2 separate regions of the Homo sapiens genome follow, and region 1 is linked to region 2. Evidence: promoter capture Hi-C in human tissues and cell types (Jung and others, 2019). All regions are on one chromosome and are shown on one strand. The core of a region is centred on a gene start or on the middle of the fragment in contact, and the rest is flanking DNA. Distances in the headings are between cores, read along the strand shown.

Region 1 (5,454 bases), core at 1,135-3,634, 150 kb after region 2:
AAAGCAGAAATATTTACCATATGGCTTTTTATGGAAAATGTTTGCCAGGCCTTGTTTTAGACTTAAGAAAGTGACAAGGCCAGGCACGGTGGCTCACGCCTGTAATCCCAGCACTTTGGGAGGCTGAGGCAGACAGATCACCTGAGGTTGGGAGTTCGAGACCAGCCTGACCAGCATGGAGAAACCCCTCTCTACTAAAAACACAAAATTAGCCGGATGTGGTGGCACATGCCTGTAATCCCAGCTACTCGGGAGGTTGAGGCAAGGGAATCGCTTGAACCCGGGAGGCAGAGGTTGCGGTGGGCAGAGATCGTGCCATTGCACTCCAGCCTGGGTAACAAGAGCGAAACTACGTCTCAAAAAAAAAAAAAGAAAGTGACAAAGAAAGTTCAGATGTTTCAGGTGTCTCCCAAATGGATGTTTCACATGCACACATCTCCCAAATGGATGTTAATGCCTTAAAATCTTGGAAGCAGGAACTGTTTTTGGTTTTGTTTGTTTGCTTGTTTGTTTGTTTTGAGATGGAGTTTTGCTCTTGTTGCCCAGGCTGGAGTGCAATGGCGTGATCTCGGCTCACTGCAACCTCTGCCTCCCAGGTTCAAGCGATTCTCCTGCCTCAGCCTCCCAAGTAGCTGGGATTACAGGCGCCCGCCACCACGCCCAGCTAATTTTTGTATTTTTAGCAGAGATGGGGGTTTCACCATGTTGGCCAGGCTGGCCTCGAACTCCTGACCTCAGGTGATCCACCCACCTCGGCCTCCCAAAATTCTAGGATTACAGATGTGAGCCACCGCACACGGCCTAGGAACTGGTTTTATGTTTGGATGATCACAAACATAGTAATATGAATGTGGCCTGGTGAGTTCCATGTAAGCATTTTCTAGCCACAAAGAACAAGTTATTTGGGCAATTCTTCCTCTTCTTGAATCTCAAGTTCCTCATCTGCAAAATGAGAGGAGAAAAATAGAAAGCTGAGAGATAAAATGGGCACAGTGCTTAGCCGTGGCATATACCGGGGGGTGCTGCCTCCATCACCTCTTTCCCACCCCATCAGGTACAAGTCATAAGGGAGCTGTCATGCGTTGGGTTGTCTAGGAGCAGAGGATGAGACAGAGCTTAGGGTGCAAGATTTTTTTCTTGCTGTTGTTTTGTTTGAGACAGGGTCTTGCTCTGTCACCCAGGCTGGAGTGCAGTGGCAAAATCATAGCCCACTGCAGCCTTGAACTCCTGGACAGAAGCGATCCTCTGCCTCTGCCTCCCAAAGCGCTGGGATTACAGGCGTGAACCGCCATGCCTGGCCATAAAATGATTTTTTTTTTTTGAGACGGAGTCTCTGTCTCCCAGGCTGGAGTGCAGTGGCGCGATCTCGGCTCACTGCAAGCTCCACCTCCCGGGTTCACGCCATTCTCCTGCCTCAGCCTCCCGCGTAGCTGGGACCACAGGCGCCCGCCAGCACGCCCAGCTAATTTTTTGTATTTTTTTAGTAGAGATGGGGTTTCATGGTGTTATCCAGGATGGTCTCGATCTCCTGACCTTGTGATCCGCCCGCCTCAGCTTCCCAAAGTGCTGGGATTACAGGCGTGAGCCACCGCGCCCGGCCATAAAATGATTTTAAGGATCCACATCAGTGAAAGGAAGCAGAGGAGGCTGGACTGGGGAGAAGGAGAACTCAGTGGTGGAGACTCCACAAGGCCTTGGCCAGCCCTACCGGGGCCCTGGAGACAGACTCACTGGTCAGAGTCACCCCCATTGGGCTGAAAGGGACCAGCCTCTCTACTCCCTTGCTCAATCACAAAAAGTGGGCTGCTCTGGGAAAGCTGTGGCCAAGTCTCTACAGCTGAGGCAGATCCGATAGGAGGTGACAGCCAACCAGTCTCCCTACAGCTGGGCATTGAGGCCTTCCTTGAAGGGTTATGGACAGTAGAATCTACCACAGGGATGCAATGTCTGCAGAGAGTTTTAAAATAATAATAAAAACTGCTAAAATCAGTCAACTTTATTTTATGTGTGCCAGCAAATGCAAACAAAATGATCAAGTACTACCTCCCTGTGGAACAGACAATCCCCATGATCCCTACCTCGGTGCTTGACAGTGAATACATGCTCACAGATGGTGGTGGTGTTATTGTTTCTTTCTTTGTGTTTGTCAGCACCAGTGGTTGTAAATGCCAGAAACCCAACTCAAACTAGCTTAAGCAAAAGGGAAAAAGGTTTGACTCATCCAGGAGCTTGTTTCTGCCTGGAACAAGTTGCTCAGACATCAGGAATCAGCCTATCTTCTCTCAGCTCTGGTTTCTCTGTTCTGGCTTTATATACAAGCATGTTTTCCTTCAGCTGACTCAGGGTTGGCCCCCGCAGCACCACTGGATCAGTGCAGCATACTCAGAGCTCAGAGTGAGCCTCTTTTCTCAAGCAGAAGATCCAGAGCAAATCCATATGGCCAGTTCTGGCCAGGTGCCCAGCCCTGAACCAATCACAGGGATTCTCACTGCCCAGTCCTGGCTCACATGCCCCACCCAAACGACATGAACGGAGCAGGGAAAGGATGGAGAAGGGAGACGCTGTTATGAGAACAGGAGTGGATGCTGGAGAGACAAGAAATTTTAGGCCAGGCACGGTGGCTCATGCCTGCAATCCCAATGCTTTGGGAGGCTGAGGCAGGTGGATCACTTGAGGTCAGTAGTTCAAGACTAGACTGGCCAACATGGTGAAACCCCGTCTCTACTAAAAATACAAAAGAAACTAACTGGTCCTGGTGGCGGGCTCCTGTTAGTCCCAGCTACTCAGGAGGCTGAGGCAGGAGAATCACTTGAAGCTGGGAGGCGGAGGTTGCAGTGGGAGTGCACCATTGCACTCCAGCCTGGGCGACAGAGCAAGACTCCATCTCTTTTTTTTTTTTGAGAGGAGTCTCGCTCTGTCGCCCAGGCTGGAGTGTAGTGGCGTGATCTTGGCTCACTGCAACCTCCGCCTCCCAGGTTCAAGCAATTCTCTGCCTCAGCCTCCTGAGTGGCTGGGATTACAGGTGCCCACCACCACGCCCAGCTAATTTTTTTTTTTTTTGTATTTTTAGTAGAGACGGGGTTTCACCATCTTGGCCAGGCTGGTCTTGAACTCCTGACCTTGTGATCCACCCGCCTCGGCCTCCCAAAGTGCTGGGATTACAGTCGTGAGCCACCGCGCCCAGCCCGAGACTCCATCTCAAAAAGAAAAAAAAGAGAGAAAAGAAATCTCCAGGACACTCCTCAATGCCCCGGTGCCAGGAACAGAGGACATCCTACGGTCCACACCAGCTCCAGTGCTCCCTGGCTTGCACAGTTAGGACACTAAGACTCAGAGGATGCCAGGAGTGGCCCAAGATTACACAGTCTTCAGAGCCCAGGGGTCCTATGTCCCGTGCCACCAACTCTCTGGTCCCTCCCAGCCATCACTGGTGCCTGGTGATACAGCTTCCTGTCACCACAAAGCTCAGACACATGGGCTCTGTACCTCAAGAGATAAAGACCAGCCCCACCTAAGTGGCCCTGCCCAGGATCACCAGCCCTGATAACAAGACTAGCTGGGCACCCGGGCCAGCCTTCACCTGCTCTGGTCCCAGCTGCCCTTGCTTGGGAGAGCTGTGGGGCCTGGCAGGGGAGGGGTGAGGTTCTGTCCATGGACTTCTGCCTCTGAATCCTCACTAGTTCTGCCTGTTTGGGAGTCTCCAGTTGTAGATTGCAGGAAGCAGAGCACAGGGCTATTTGACTGCTTTTAGATGCATTTTTTTTTTTTAATTGAGACAGGGTCTCACTCTGTCACCCAGGCTGGAGTGCAGTGGCATAATCACAGCTCACTGTAGCCTCAACCTCCTGGGCTCAATCGATTCACCCGTCTCAGCCTCCTGAGCAGCTAGGACTACAGGTGTGCCCCACCACACCTGGCTGATTTTGGGGTTTTTTTTTGTAGAAATGGGGTTTTGCCATGTTACCCAGGGTCATGTTGAATTCCTAGGCTCAAGCGATCTGTCTGCCTCGGCCTCCCAAAGTGAGGGGATTACAGCCTAGATCCAATTTTTAAATGTAAAGCTTCTTGGTTTACTTATCTTCCCCAAACCTAATGGAGAATCACAAATAGGCCACTGGGCAATGGCACAGCAGCTCTGGGCAGCTGGGTTTCCAGCCCAGCTCTCTTCCCTGTGCTCACCTAGAGCAGAGCAAGCTTTAATGTTCTGATCACGTTGCATCTCTACTATAAAACCTTCAATAGGCCGGGTGCGGTGGCTCATGACTGTAATCCCAGCACTTTGGGAGACCGAGGCGGGCGGATCAACTGAGGTCGGGAGTTCACGACCAGCCTGACCAACATGGAGAAACCCCATCTCTACTAAAAATACAAAATTAGCCAGGTGTGGTGGCACATGCCTATAATCCCAGCTACTCAGGAGGCTGAGGCAGGAGAATCGCTTGAACCCAGGAGGCAGAGGTTGTGGTGAGCTGAGATCCCGCCATTGCACTCCAACCTAAGTAACAAGAGTGAAACTCTGTCTCAAAAAAAAAAAAAAAAAACCTTCAATAGCTCCCTATTGTCTCAAAGATAAAATCTAAACCCCCTGACAATGAGATCACCCATCCTTGCCTTCTTTTTTTTTTTTTTTGAGACAGAGTCTTACTGTGTCACTCAGGCTGGAGTGCAGTGGCACGATCTCCACTCACTGCAACCTCCGCCTCCTGGTTCAAGTGGTTCTCCCGCCTCAGCCTCCCTAGTAGCTGGGATTACAGGCATGCGCCACCACACCTAGCTAGTAAGCCTCCATCTTCTAATCTGTGAAATGGGGATATGAGAGCACCTACTTAACAGGGTTGTTGTGGATTTAATGAGTAAAGAGCAGAGCATGGAATGTGCTTAGTACAGTGCCTGGCACATAAAACAAAGTGACCAGAAAATGGGAATTTAGTTTGTGTTAACATTATTTTAATTATTTTGAAAAAGTGTGCTGCCTCCAGAGGTAACCATCTGGTGAATCATGTTCCTTCTGCAGAAGATTTTTTCCTTTTAAGCTAAAAAAAAAAAAAAAATCAGCTTACGCTGGGTGTGGTGGTTCATGCCTGTAATCCCAGCATTGTGGAAGGCCGAGGCAGAAGGACTGCTTGAGCCCAGGAGTTCAAGGTTAGCCTAGGCAACACAGGAAGACCCCATCTCTAAAATAATAATAATAATAATAATCAGCCCACTTCTTAGGACACTAAAGCACAAGTGACTGAAGAACAGGTAGATACGCTGGACTTCATCAAAATTAAAAGCTGTTGCACTAAAAATAATACAATTAAGAAAGTGAAGGCCAGGCATGGTGGCTCACGCCAGTAATTCCAGCACTTTGGGAGGCCAAGGTGGGTGGATCACTTGAGGTCAGGAGTTTGAGACCAGCCTGGGCAACATGGTGAAACCCTGTCTCTACTAAAAACACAAAAATTAGTTGGG
Region 2 (5,466 bases), core at 1,732-4,231:
AACACTTCGGCTTCCCTCTGGGTAAAATACAGGGTGCCCTGTTAAATTTGCATTTCAGATAAATTAGATAATGTTTTAGTATAAGTGTGTCCCAAATATTGCATGAGACATACTCAAAAACATTTATTTTTAAAAAAATCTTTCATTGTTTATCTGAAATTCAAATTTAACTGGGTGTGCTGTATTTTTATCTGGTTAAACCTGGCAACCCCACCCCCCCACCAGTGGTGAAATGCATGGTTGGTGACCACACAATTAATAAACAACCCACAGTCTCATGGGCTGAGTCTAAGACCCAATCCGAAGGCGCGGGGAAGGTGAGATATGGCTTCTCAGGGGCCAGAGAAACCTGGGCAATAAGTCCAAGGCTTTCGCTTAGAAGGGGCCAAAAAAAAAAAAAAACAAAAAACCTCAAAGCCAAGTTTCTACAAAGTCCACCTTACAACACAGACAACACTGAGCAACAGCTCCTCCTGCGCCCAGGGCGCGGTGCTCTCGGAGGCATGACCTCAATCGTCCTCAATAACCCGAGGGGACCTGGAAGCCAAGCACAAAACCCCGGGTCACCATGGTTAGAGAAGTGACAATGATATGCCCAAGGTCGCGGCAACGAAGTGAACTGGAAGCTGGACCATGAGATCCCAAAGCCTGAGGTCTTCAGAGGACACGATGTGTTGTTTCCCCAAACCCAGGGAGGCGCAGAGGTACAGCCCCTCAAGCTCCAACTACAGGCCTGGTCCCCGCGGGGTCAGCGGGCTGGAAGGCCTCCAGGCCGGCCGCCCCGGGGCCCGCGGGGTGGGAAGCCCCATCTCTCCATCTGCCCTCCCTGCAGAGCAGCTGGCCGCTCTGCGGGAGCAGCTGTCAGGGTGCAGGAGCCTCTGTCCAGCCGGGAACCTGGAGTAGGAGGCCCCACCACGCCTCCTCGAGCAGAGAAAGGCGGCTTGCCGGCTGTTTCCCAACCTCCAGGCCGGCGACAGAAGGGACCCAGGCACAGACACCAGTTCTTTCTTTGCACAGGGGCTGAGGCAAGGAGGGGAGCAACTCCGGGCTTCCCGCGGGGAATCCCACAGTAGAGGGGGCTGCGGGTTGTTTTCCAGCGTGTGTGTGTTGGCCTGCAGCTGTTTCTGCCATTTTTAAATGGCTCCAGTCGGGCACCGGGCACCCTGTGTACCAGGGGAGCTCCCGAGACACCGACGACTTGGATCTCAACTTTGGAAAGCCTCCCCTTCTCACGGTTCTGAAAATTCTTTGTCCCACTGGAGCCAAACCCAGCCCACGGCCGGGCATCCGGCCATCGCAGCCAGCCCTTTCCATAGGAGGCCGGGGAGCACGTGGACTTTATTGATTTTCCTCTTGCCTTTTTTGTTGGGTTTGACTCAGAAAGGACAGCTAACTTGTGACACCGCCACACCGGAGGCTCGCCCCCAGTGGCTTTTAGAGACCGAGGCGCTACTCGAGAAACGACACCCCCAAACGTAAACATCCCCTGCCACAGGGCCTGCCCAGCTTCCAGGCTCGAAATAAAGGGTCGAGACGAGCCCGCGGGCGCTGACACTCAGAGCCAGCGTTGCGGCGGCTCCTCTCCCTCCGGGACCCCAGTGAAGGCGTGGGAAAAAAATAATAAAGTTGAAATCAGGCAGCGGGGAGTTTTCAACAACTCTGACCCAACCTGGCGATCTGCTTGCGCCTCGGGCCTGGCCCAGGGGCCGATTCCGAGCAGACCCCGACGAGGCCGCGGAAAGGTTCGATCCCCTTAATGTCGACCGGGCCACGCCGGGCGGACGCTAATGTGATCCCGAAAACCACGCGCGGCCGCCACCAAGTCCCCCTCTCCCCGGTGCAGAGAACAAAAACAACAGCTCCCTCCGCAAAACAAACACGAGCTCCCGGTGTGGAGAGGCAGCCGCGGCCCAGGACGAACGGCTTCTGGCCAAAAACATCGGCTGGCCCGAGCCCCCCGCCCGGGGCGCCGCGCAGAGCGGGGTGGGACGTGGGCGCCCCGCGCCCCTGGCCGCTGGCTCCCAGCGCTCGCCCCCATCTTTCCTGGTCGCCGAGAGCCCTCGCTCCAGGCAGCCCAAAGCGCTAAATTTAAACGGCTCGCGCTCTGCAAACTCCGCAGACTCGAGGGCGCCGGGCCCGGGAGGCGGGAGCGGGCGGCCGGGCGGGCCGGGGCTGGCGGAGGGCGGCGGGGCGCGGGCCGGGGTGCGCGGGGAGGAGACGGCGGCGGCGGCCCGCTCGGAGCCTGCACAATGGAGCTCGCGCTCTCCCCGCCGCCGCCGGCATCGCGGCCCCGGCGCGCGGGAAGCCGCTTTCATGTGACTTGCACAAAACGAAATGGCTTCTGGGGCCGGCCCCGAGCCCCCCTCCCGGGAGCCGAGCGCCGCGGCGGGGGCCGCCCCGCCGCTCCAACCGCCTGGCCCCGGCGCCCGCCGCCTCCGGGCCGCCGCGCCAGGTGGGCTACAGGCGCGAGCGCACCTGGGCAGCGGCCGCGGCCCCAGCCTGGCGCAGGTGACCCGGCTCGCGCGCCGCCCGCCCGTCCGCCCGCCCTCGCCAAGTCCCGGGGCCCGCGGCGGGGCTGGGCCGGGGCAGGCGGCCGGGGCGCTGCGCCCCGCGGCTCTCTGGAGCCGCGCTCGGGCTCGGGGCGGCCGGGGAGGCGGCTGGCGGCGGGCGCCTCCGCTTACCATTTGCGCACTTTCTCGATCGCCGCCATGACCCTCTTGATATCATCTTTGGCCCGGCTCCTCGTCTCGGCTCGAACCGACCTGCCCGACATGGTTCCGGCGGGGAGACGGAGGCTGGGGAGCGCGCCCGCCGGGTCCTGCTCGCGCTCCGCGGCGGCCACACTCGCGCCCGCCCGCCGCTCACTCACTCGCGCACAGACACTCGCACTCTCACACGCACACACTCACACACACACACACACACACACACACATACACACACACACAAAGCCCGGGGCCGCCGCGCGCCTGGCCCAGTGCGCAAGCGCCGGGCGGCAGCTGCACAGAGCAGGGGGAGCCGCGCCGCCGCCGCCGCCGGCAGTGCGGCCTCCGGGCGCCGCGGCCACCGGGCAGCGCCCCCGGGCCTCCTGCGCCCCCAGAGGGGACGCCCCGGACGCCCTCCTGGGGAGGTGGCGAAGGGCGCACGGCGACCCCCGGCTCTGGGCGCGCGGTGGGGGCGGGCGTGCGGACACGCGCGCTGACCCTTCCTCGGAGGCTGCAGGTGCCGAGGGGTCCATGGGAGACAGCCGGTCTGCGGGGCGCGGGGGGGTCGCGTTCCCCGGGAGCCAGCCCAGCTGCCCCTGCCCAGCCCCCAGAGCGCGGCGGCGGGTGCAGTCGTGCAAGTTTCTTGCGGGTCTCTTGACTTCTCCGAGTTGAAGGCACCGGTTCGGGACGCGAGGTGCTCTTGGAAAGAGTTGGGCATCGCGCATCTCTGCTGGCCCGCGGCCCTGTTCAAATGCGAGCTAGGACGTCGCCTGCCCCAGGCTTTGTCCTTTTGGAAAACTAGGGTTGTAGGAAGGTGCCTGGTGCCAGGCAGACCACCAGAGACTCTCGACCTTGAGTACTAAAGAGTTTTCTGCTCAGCAAAAGCTCAATGATGATCAGCATCGTAACAGGGACTCTTCCTCCCGCCCCCAGAAGTTCTCTTGTCATAAACAAGGCGAGGGGGTCTTCGCTGAGCTTCACCAGAGGACCACGATTTCACCTTAAGCCATTCCTGACTTCAGTACCAGACTGAGACCAGGCGCTGCTACTGCCCAAATGACCCCTGGTCCCATCTACAAGGAGCACTTTTGAGGCCTCAGAACAGAGCCCCGGGGAGAAATCTGCGATGATCAGGGTAACCTGGGTGCCGCATCTTGCTGTTCAGCTGCAGCGGAACCGGCCGGACCAGAGCTAATGCGCGCCCAGAATGAAGAGGGAGACCGAGAGTGGCCCAAATGTCAGCGCCCCGGGCCTGGAGATGACAGCCCGACAGCAGCCATTTCACAGCTGGGGAAACTGAGTCCTGGGAAAGTTTAAGGTTGCAGCCTTAAGTTGTTACTCATTCTAGACGTTTCCCCTGAGGGTTTGGTCTTTGGGGAACACGCTACTGTGGAAATGGAGAGACCGCAGGCCTTTTCCTAGGCATTTGTTTTTACTATTCTGAAACGCAGTCTCCTGACGTGAAAAATGAAGAAAAGAACAAATACTGGCCGGGCGCGGTGGCTCATGCCTGTAATACCAGCACTTTGGGAGGCCGAGGCGGGTGGATCACTTGAGGTTAAGAGTTCGATACCAGCCTGGCCAACATGGTGGGTGAAACCCCGTCTCTACTAAAAATACAAAAATTAGCCGGGCGCGGTGGTGGGCTCCTGTAATCGCAGCTACTCGGGAGTCTGAGGCAGGAGACTCGCTTGAACCTGGGAGACGGAGGTTGCAGTGAGCAGAGATCCAGCCACTGCACTCCAGCCTGGGAGACAGAGTGAGACCCTGTCTCAGAAAAAAAAAAAAGGCCGGGCGCGGTGGTTCATGCCTGTAATCCCAGCACTTTGGAGGCCGAAGTGGGCAGATCACGAGGTCAGGAGTTCGAGACCAGCCTGGCCAACATGGAGAAACCCTGTCTCTACTAAAAATACAAAAATTAGCTGGGCGTGGTGGTGCAGGCCTGTAATCTGAGCTACGCGGGAGGCTGAGGCAGGAAAATGCTTGAACCTGGGAGGCAGAGGTGCAATGATCATGCCATTGCACTCCAGCCTGGGCAACAGAGCAAAACTGAATCTCAAAAAAACAAAACAAAACAAAATAAAACAAAACAAAACAAAAAAAGAAAGAGAGAAAGAAAAAGAAAAAAAAGAGAAAGAGAAAGAAGGACTTCAGAGAATCGTTCCGAGAATTTTCTGGGAAAATATGCAACAGCAGGTCATAAAACAGATCTCACAGAGATATGTGAGATCAATAGGTATGTGCTTTGGGCCACATGAAACTTTAAAAAAATGTATCTTAAAATTTAAAATAGGAAAATATTATGTCAGAATTCAAATAGTGACTGAGGAACAGATAAATGTGTCTATCCACACAATGGAATATTATTCAGCCATAAAAGGGAATGAATACATGCTACAACATGGGTGAACCTTGAAACACGCTAAGTGAAAGAAGCCAGTCACAAAAGGATAAATATGCGTAAGTCCATTTGCGGGAGATATCTACAACTAGGCGAATCCATAAAGACAGATATCAGATTGGTGGTTGCCAGAGGCAAGGGGGAGGGAGAGCAGGAGTGACTGCTAACGGATGTGGGGTTTCCTTTCGGAGTGATAGGAAAGTTCTGGAATGAGATAGTGGTGATGGTTGCAGAACAATGTGAATGTACTTAATGACGCTGAATTGTACACTTTTAAATGGTTACAATGGTCAATTTTATGTGTATTTGATCATAATAAAAAGAAATCTAGGCTGGGCGCGGTGGCTCACATCTGTGATT

The links. The method cuts DNA at HindIII sites, captures the fragments that hold promoters and counts their contacts. A contact is called where the count stands out against the background at its distance.
Region 1: a contact is called between a fragment that was not itself captured here and the fragment with the promoter of BCL7A in region 2, in 1 of the 25 tissues and cell types used here (pancreas).

The regions. Positions count from the first base shown.
Region 1 is chr12:121,869,683-121,875,136 of GRCh38, reverse strand. It overlaps TIALD (transcript inducer of AURKA lysosomal degradation), which reads right to left. Exons shown (of 3, transcript XR_002957437.2): 3 at 800-942. It also overlaps a transcript of HPD not described here. Among named protein-coding and RNA genes, the nearest start is that of HPD, 14 kb to the right of the region's middle. The HindIII fragment of the contact is 7,965 bases long and covers 1-5,454 here.
Region 2 is chr12:122,019,399-122,024,864 of GRCh38, reverse strand. BCL7A (BAF chromatin remodeling complex subunit BCL7A) reads right to left here and starts at 2,981. Exons shown (of 6, transcript NM_001024808.3): 1 at 2,682-2,981. The coding sequence starts at 2,773. RefSeq lists silencers at 693-782, 2,263-2,422, 2,573-2,892, 3,023-3,102 and an enhancer at 1,613-2,428. The HindIII fragment of the contact is 14,578 bases long and covers 1-5,466 here.